Regions from separate parts of the Homo sapiens genome. Here region 1 is linked to region 2. The links are contacts of gene promoters, found by promoter capture Hi-C in blood cells and fetal thymus (Javierre and others, 2016). All regions are on one chromosome and are shown on one strand. Each heading gives the region's core, a stretch centred on a gene start or on the middle of the fragment in contact. The rest is flanking DNA. Distances are from core to core; before and after follow the strand shown. Region 1 overlaps AQP11 (aquaporin 11). Region 2 holds the start of MYO7A (myosin VIIA).

What was found. Contacts are between HindIII fragments. The CHiCAGO score rates a contact against its expected background, and 5 or more counts as called.
Region 1: a fragment that was not itself captured here is called in contact with the fragment with the promoter of MYO7A in region 2 in 1 of 17 cell types (M1 macrophages); the score reaches 5.5 in M1 macrophages.

The regions. Positions count from the first base shown.
Region 1 is chr11:77,601,245-77,605,129 of GRCh38, reverse strand. AQP11 (aquaporin 11) reads right to left here. Exons shown (of 3, transcript NM_173039.3): 2 at 1,458-1,574. Among named protein-coding and RNA genes, the nearest start is that of AQP11, 13 kb to the right of the region's middle. The HindIII fragment of the contact is 307 bases long and covers 2,024-2,330 here.
Region 2 is chr11:77,126,359-77,130,437 of GRCh38, reverse strand. MYO7A (myosin VIIA) reads right to left here and starts at 2,192. Exons shown (of 49, transcript NM_000260.4): 1 at 1,949-2,192. RefSeq lists enhancers at 614-1,337, 2,060-2,783, 2,784-3,506. The HindIII fragment of the contact is 18,517 bases long and covers 1-4,079 here.

The sequences.
Region 1 (3,885 bases), core at 928-3,427, 470 kb before region 2:
GCTCCGCCTCCTAGGTTCCCACCATTCTCTTGCCTCAGCCTCCCAAGTAGCTGGGACTACAGGTGCCCGCCACCACGACCAGCTAATTTTTTGTATTTTTAGTAGAGACGGGGTTTCACCATGTTAGCCAGGATGGTCTCAATCCCCTGACCTCATGATCTGCCTGCCTCGGCCTCCCAAAGTACTGGGATTACAGGCGTGAGCCACTGCGCCCGGCCTAAAAACAGAGAAAATTTTTCTTTAAAGAAGTTATCGGAAAATACTAGCACTCTGTAGAACTGACCAAAAGTTATATTACTAGCATTTAAAACCAGTTTTTCTCTGATATTCTTCATGTTTAGGCCTATAGATATTATTGAGCATAACAATATTGAGCATAACAATATGATATTGAGCATAACAATAACATTAATGTGAGATAGAGGAATGGAAGGTAAACAGGAAGAGTAAAGTGTGATTGACTATTCAAACCTGTTATGGCACTTCCCTTCTGTGTTACCTTCTGTGTATGTGTGTGTGTGTTTTAAAGAAAATGACTAACAAGGAACAATATGCTAACTGGATAAAAAGAAGAGTGAATTAATGGAGGGCCAAGCATCTTCATATTCACTTACAGTTATGAGTTATAATCAGGCTTAAAACAGATGACTAAACAAAATCAATAAATGCTGATAACTTTATATACGTAATGCAAAAGAAATGCATAATAATTTTTTGTATATTGTATAATTTTGTGTGTTATTTGACCCATCTTTATAAAGAGTTTATATATCTGATCTAAATAGAAGTAACTGGAATGTAGCCTGAGCAACATAGCGAGACCTCATCTCTACAAAATATACAAAAATTAGCCGGGTGTGGTGGCACATGCCTGTCATCCCAGCTACTCAGGAGGCTAAGGCAGGAGGATTGCTTGTGCCCAGGAGTTCAAGCACAGTGAGCTATGGCTATGATCATGCCGCTGCCCTCAAGCCTGGGTGACAAAGAGAGACCCTGTCTCGAAAAAAAACAAAACAAAAACAATAAAAATAACAGGAATGTAATGTGGATAATTTTTAAACTATACTTAATACAGGTATTCATTGTTTCATGAGATGCTGTTCTGCAAAATGAGTCAAATGAACTAAATGATACTTTATCTGGAGCTCACAAATGTGAAAAAACAAATTTCTTTAGCAAAAAAAAAAAAGATTATTTTTGAAGGGAAGTAAGCACTCGTTGCTTTTTTGGTGCTCAGATCTAAGGTTTCTTAAAGTGATAGCATATCTGAAACTGACTACCTTTAACAGTTTTAAAGGATACTACACAAAGTATTATTTCAGGCATGTTAGCTACCTTTTTCATTTTCTGTTTTGTGCCTGCTGTGGCTTTGGAAATTGACATGTTACAATGATATACACATATCATATTTTAAAATACCCTAATCTTTCAGACATATTAAATAAAAATACGCTTACCTAAAGAAGGAGCCAGCCAGTATACTATAAAAAACTGAGGGAATGCTTCATCAAAACACATGAAATGTAGCGAAAGTGCCAAAGCTGGATTAAATACAGCTCCTGTTAGACTTCCTCCTGTAACAGATTTTAAGCAGAGTGATTTCAAATGATTTATCTTCCATTTCCTTGTAACTGGAAATAAATGGTTACTAAATGTGACTTTTATTTTAGGTATTCTTAGTCTGTGATCTTCCTTTGCAGAATCACCTGGCATATTTTAGACTATAATCATAAATCATAATATGCCACTTACTATAAAAAAAAAGACAGAGGACATTAAAGTTTGAACCCAGTGCTTTTCCTATAGACTATAAAATGGACACTGAAAGTTAATGTGCTCTATTATTATTCCTACCGTTTTATAAAATAGATTTGGCTGCCCTGAACATTTGTCAATTTAAATGAATGAATAATAATAAAAGTAAAATGAAAATACAGTTAAATAGATACAATGACCCAAGATCCTCTTGAGTACAAGCATAACTTTGTATTGAAAAGGTAAAATGGACCAATAGACCAAAGCTTTATCATTGGTTCTATTTTTACTTGTCAACAGAGCCCTTAAGAAGGGACTGTGAGTAGTCATGAGAGATAAGCACAAATTATAACTGTTGGCTACTTTTTAGGATTTGTGTTCCAGCTCTGCACCCAGGGTATTTCTCTGGCATGGGGCTAGGAGTCTATAGTCTGGCCACACAAGTGCGGAATGGAAGAGGAGGCTGGATGCCTGTCCAGCAGTACTCCACAGAGCTGTGTCTTCGCTTTTCAAAGTCCAGCCTAAGAGCATCCCTCAGACAGTGACATTTTCAGCAGTTTTTCCAAGTGGAAGCTTAGGCACACAACTCTGCCTCTTTTACTTAGCCACAGAGATAGATCCTGAGATCTTCAGAAGTTTTATTATTGACATGCACCATTGTAGCCTGTTTTCATGGAAATTAAGTGGCCCTTTCATAAGATTTCACTACTGAGATTTCACACTTGAATAGGCCGAGAACAATGAAGCTGTGTTGAGATGAAGATATTTAGCAATGAACTAAGCTCACTCAATAGCTAAGAGTTTTTTCTAGTGTACCAGCCTCACAGCATGATTCACATTCATGACTCAGCAATTATAAATGATATCATAGACCTTTGGAATCATTCTTGAACAGTCAAATCCTGGAATGTTAAACCTGCCACTGCTAAGGGTGAACAGAATTGTCTGGTTGGCAGCTAGTCATTTCAGTTTGATTACACAAAAACTTATTGAGTTCCTGTGTACTAGATACCATGGGCAGAAAGATAAAGACTCACACAGACATTTACAATATAATGTAATATGACCTATGATGATATAAATGACCTGTGACTTTTAGGCATGTATTGATAAAAATGGACTGAATCATTACCCTCACTTAGTTTACTTCAGTATTCAAGGCCATGGTATACTGAAGATTTTCCACTAGATCTAAGATGAACACCACTGATCAGTCTTATGCCATCCTAAAACTCAAACGACTTCACTTCCTAATCTTCTCATCCTCACACAGCAGTTCTGATCAGTGTGACTTAGTGGTAGCTGCTTCTCCCAGCAAGACGTTGTCTACTTTCCCTCTCTTAAAAATGAGCTGGCTTTGCAACTTGTGTTGATAGAATGCAGCAGAGTAGGGCTATGGGAATTCTGAATGTAACAGGAGTGATGCTGTGTGAATTCTAGGTTCACATCTCAATAAACCCATCAGCTTCCACTTTTTGCTCTCTTGGAAGAATGCCCTGACCATGTAAGTTTGCTGGTCTAGGTTGCTGGAGGATGAAAGGCCACACGGAAGAGAACTGAGGCATCTTAGATGACAGCTGACAACTGCCAGACATATGAGTGAGGCTACCTTGGGCTTTCCAGCCTCACCACTGGTCAGCTGAATGCAGCTATATGAGAGATCTCAGAGGAACTGCCCATCTATAACCCACAGAATCATGAAAAATAAGTTATTCTCAGTTTTGGGGCCAGGCATGGTGGCTCATGCCTGTAATCCTAACACCTTGGAAGGCTGAAGCGGGTGGATCACTTGAGCCCAGGAGTTTGTAATGAGCTCAGGCAACATAGCAAAACCCCGTTTCTATAAGAAATACAAAAATTAGCTGGTTGTGGTGCCACATGCCTGTGGTCCCAGCTACTTGGGAGGCTAAGGCAGGAGAATAAACTGAGCCTGCAGAGGTTGAGGCTGCAGTGAGTCGAGATTGTGCCACCGCTCTCCAGCCTGGGTGACAGAGTGAGATCCTGTCTCAAAAAAAAAAAAAAAAAAAAAAGTTTTGAATGGTGTGTTACACAGCAATAGTTAACTGATACAGAAATCCATGTCAGGTGTGGGTTCTGTGTTAACAAAAACTAAAAACATGGCATTGGCTT
Region 2 (4,079 bases), core at 943-3,442:
CCTGTGTGACCTGAGCCTCAGCCACTGTCACCAGCACCACTGCCCAGAGCAGCTGAATTCTTCTCTCAGCCACTGTCATTCAGAGATTCCCAAAGGGCTCCTAGAAAGTAGCAAGTCTGGCCCCACCAGGGACCTACGGCAAAGGGGCCCAGAGAGGGACCAAGACTTGCCCAGGGTCACACAGCTAGCCAGAGCAAATTTAGGACTAGGACTTAATCTCCGGCACTCAGCTTAGGGACTGCCCCAGGAATGTGGGTGACAAGGACAAGCCTGACTGAGCAGAAGGTCAAGGGCTGGGCATGACCTGCTCACAGCACACCCTGCCTGAAACCTCTCAAGAGCACCCACTGCCCTCAGGATGGCTCTGTGCAGAGCACTGGCTGCTGACGGGGAGGCAGGGTCATTGGGGTCTGTCTCTGGCTGTGCTGCTGAATGCACCGCACCTGGGCCTGGGCCCGGGCCCGGGCCCGCCCCGCTAGGCCCAGCACAATCTGGCCCCTGCTGATGCCTCGGTCTTTTCTCTCACTGCTCACTCCCTTTCCTACCCTTATACTTGGACATCCTCAGTGACTCACTGTTCCTGAAATACGCCAGCTCTTGCCATCTCCTGGCCTTCACACACTGGCCCTTCTACCTGAAATTTTGACTAGTGAATTTCCACTTATGGTTCATGGCTCAGTTCAGATGATACCTCCTCCAGGAAGCCTTCCCTGACCACTCCCAAGCTGCCAAGAGCCTCTATATTCCCCTTTATCCCATTTTGACTATATGCATTATGTTGTCAGGGTAAGGGTCAGTCCCACCTCTGCCCCCAAAGTTGGCGAGTTGATCCAGGGCAGGATGTGGCCAATGGGAGAGGGTCTGAGACATTGCCTTGTCTCCAGCCTTGTCCAGCACAGGGCCAGACCCAGAGACGGCCTCAGGAAGGAGCTTAAAAGGCAGCCCCAGCCTACAGACCCTGGTATGAGGCCCCTCTGGCTCCCAACCTGTCTCCTAGAATGCGCATCAATTTTTCACAAGGGCCCATTCAGAGCCGCCGGGGCATTCGATCCTCTGCCCATGACACTGCCCGACATCCGAGCCCTGACCCCTGCCCTGGAGCTCTGGGACACAGCAAACCCACAGTCCTTCCAGAGACCTGAACTAGTCTGGATGCCTGGTGGAGATGTGGATTCAACAGGGCCAGCAGGCAGTTGCCACCGGGCACTTGTCTGAAGATGGTGCCCAGGCTGTGGAGCAGGCGCCCTATGCCAGCATGAGCCATGAGGGCTGGGGGCAGAGCCAGTGCTTTCACTAGAGACATGGGGCTCCAAGGGATGGGGGAGAGTGGTGAGGGCGTGAAATTTAAGGGCCACATTTTAAAATGACCAGACAGACATTTCATTTCTAAAAATGAGAACTAGACCACCTTCAAGTTAATTTCTTTTCCAACTGACAACAGGGGGCATAGACTGTATTTGTATTTCTATGTCTATACCTGATTTTACCTCTTCCCCACTACAACCCTGGCTGTTGGGGCTTCATACTCCCATTTCACAGATGGGATATTTGGGGCATAGAGGAAGGAAGTGACTTATCCAAAAACGGAGATAAAGAGTGTCAGAGAGAAAGCAAAGGAGACAGAGAGAACGGACTCTTCTCTCTGCCACCACAGCATGTCTATTCCCCTGGCCCCAGGATGCCACTAACCCCAGCCCCAGCTCAGAGAAGATTCGATGGACAACATGCTCCTTGGCTCTTCCCTCCTCCAGGGGACACACATCCATCTTCCCAGGCTCGGGACAGTTTCATTCAGTGGCTGTGGTGGCTGAGCCCTCAAGGGTGGCAGGAAGCCCAGTCCCAGGAGCAAGTGGCTGTGGGGCAGAGGCTCTAGAGGTAGCTCAAGTCCATGACTCCTCCACATCCAAACCCCTCCCAATGCCCAGGACAGTGGGCAGCCCATCCTTACCTGGGGCCCAGCTGCCCACTCTCAGTGACCTGCCAGCCTGGTACAGCTGCCACCTGCACGGAGGACTCAGGAAGCTGGGTCACGGGCCCAGCCAGTCTGCAAACACACGTCCCCTCTTCCTCTGTCTGGCTCCAAGTCTCGTTCTAGGCGTCCCTCTGGGTCTTTCCCTTCCTCGCCGTCTCTCTGTGTGTGTCTCTTGTCTCTCCCTCTCTCTCCTGCCCAGAGCAGCTGTCCAGCCAGCACTGCTGCCCTCCCCTCCTCACTCCAGAGCCTTCTCCCAGGAGGCGGAGCCGGAGGGGGCCTCCAAGGTCTGGGTGCGGTGACATCAGCGTGGGGGACGGGCCGTGCTGGGGCTGGGACTAATGTCCAGAGGCTGCTCAGGGCTCTGTGCAGAGCACTGGCTGCCGACAGGGAGGCGGGGTCATTGGGGTCTGTCTCTGGCTGTGCTGCTGAATGCACCGCACCTGGGCGTGGGCCCCCCAGGCTAGCTTCAGGTGCCTCCTGTTGTTTGCAGGACACCGCCTGCTGTCTCAGCACCTGAGCAGGAAACCGCACCTGATCCTGACTTAATCACTGATGTGCTGGGGTCTCAGCCCCATTTCTTCCTCCTCTACCTGGCTGTTTGGGACTCAGAGAGGGAACGGTCAGGCAGAGCATGGCAGGAGGGAGAGTGCTGAGCTAAAGCCCTGCCTTCTGCGCCTTCTCCCTCCTGCACACCCACCCTTGCCTCTGATGTGTGTTCTCTGACGCTGGTCAATGCAACATTGCCCCCACAACCTGCTCTGCGGGTTGGGGACACATGTTATTCCGTAATCATCCAGAAACTTTGCCAAACCAGCTGACTGGGAGCCACCCCACGTGTGACAGCGACACAGATAAACTGAAGTGAAATCTGTGATTTAAAGGAGTGGGGGGAACCAAGCAAAGAGGAGCACACGTCTTTGTTATTAGCGTTGTCGAGGATGGAGACCTCGCGCGGCCCTATCGGGACATGACAGTTTCTCCTTTCCGCCCTCGGCAGCCACGCAGCTGTCGGCGGCCCCATAGTGCACCTCGCCAGGGCAGCTCTGGGTGGCAGAAGGATGTCTCTTTTGGGTCCCTAGCCCCCATAACTGGGGTGTCTGCAGGGAAGCTGCCCAGAAGGTGGGGTGGGGGCCCAAAGGGGCGCTATAGCTCGCCAGCGCCGCCTGCTGGTCACAGGCCCCACTGCCCAGCTGCTTCCGTCAGGCGGGCTGAGCACCGCTGGGAAGTGACCGTGACAGGAGTCAGCTTCTGCTAGGGCCTGGGTCCCCTCAGACCCGACGACCCTGTCCCAGGAAGACCCCAGGATGCCGTCTGCCCCTTAGCCTGCTGGCCTAACAGGAGTCCAGGAGTCCCTGGAACACAGTCCCCACCTGGGATTTGCACCTGCTGCCGAAACCCAGTACTGGCCACTCCTCAAGTCCCCCCTCTCCATCCTCCCAGGCTGGGCGGGGCCAGTGGCGTCAGCCCTACACGGATGGGGAAATGAGACCCCGGGGGAGCACAGGAGAGCCCATGGCACACGACTGGCAGCAGGGACAAAATGCAGTGAGCTGTGGGAATGGGGCAGAGAGGTGGGCAGGTTATGGGGGACAGGGCGGCCTCCAAACACCAGGATGACAGCTACATTGTGTTCAGCCATGCTATGAACCAGGCACTATGCTAAGCAGATCACACGATTTGCAATACCCATTTCTCAGTCCCATGAAGAAAGCGAGGCATCTCGGTTCACTTTGCCCTCACACTGCACTCACCCCGTCTCCCAAGTCGTTTTTCATTGAGTCGTCCACTCTGCTTTCAGTCATCCCAACCCTGCTTCTCCCCACCACCACACCAGCTTCCTGGCCCTAGATGCCTGCATCTGCCCTCAGCAGCCTCCGCTCTGGTCCCCCCACACCTTCCTGTGCCCCGAAGGCCCATCTCCTCTTCCCAGCCCTTCATGCACAGATCAGGGAGTAGGCCGTCTCTAACCCAGCAGGCCCACACTGCCCCATCAGTAATGTGCGGGGTAGTGTCTGTCATGACCAGAGTATGTCTTTGTTCTCGCTGCTCGTTTGTAGACTGTCCCAGAGCAGGGATTGCTATGCCTGGTTCCCCACATCCCAGGTGC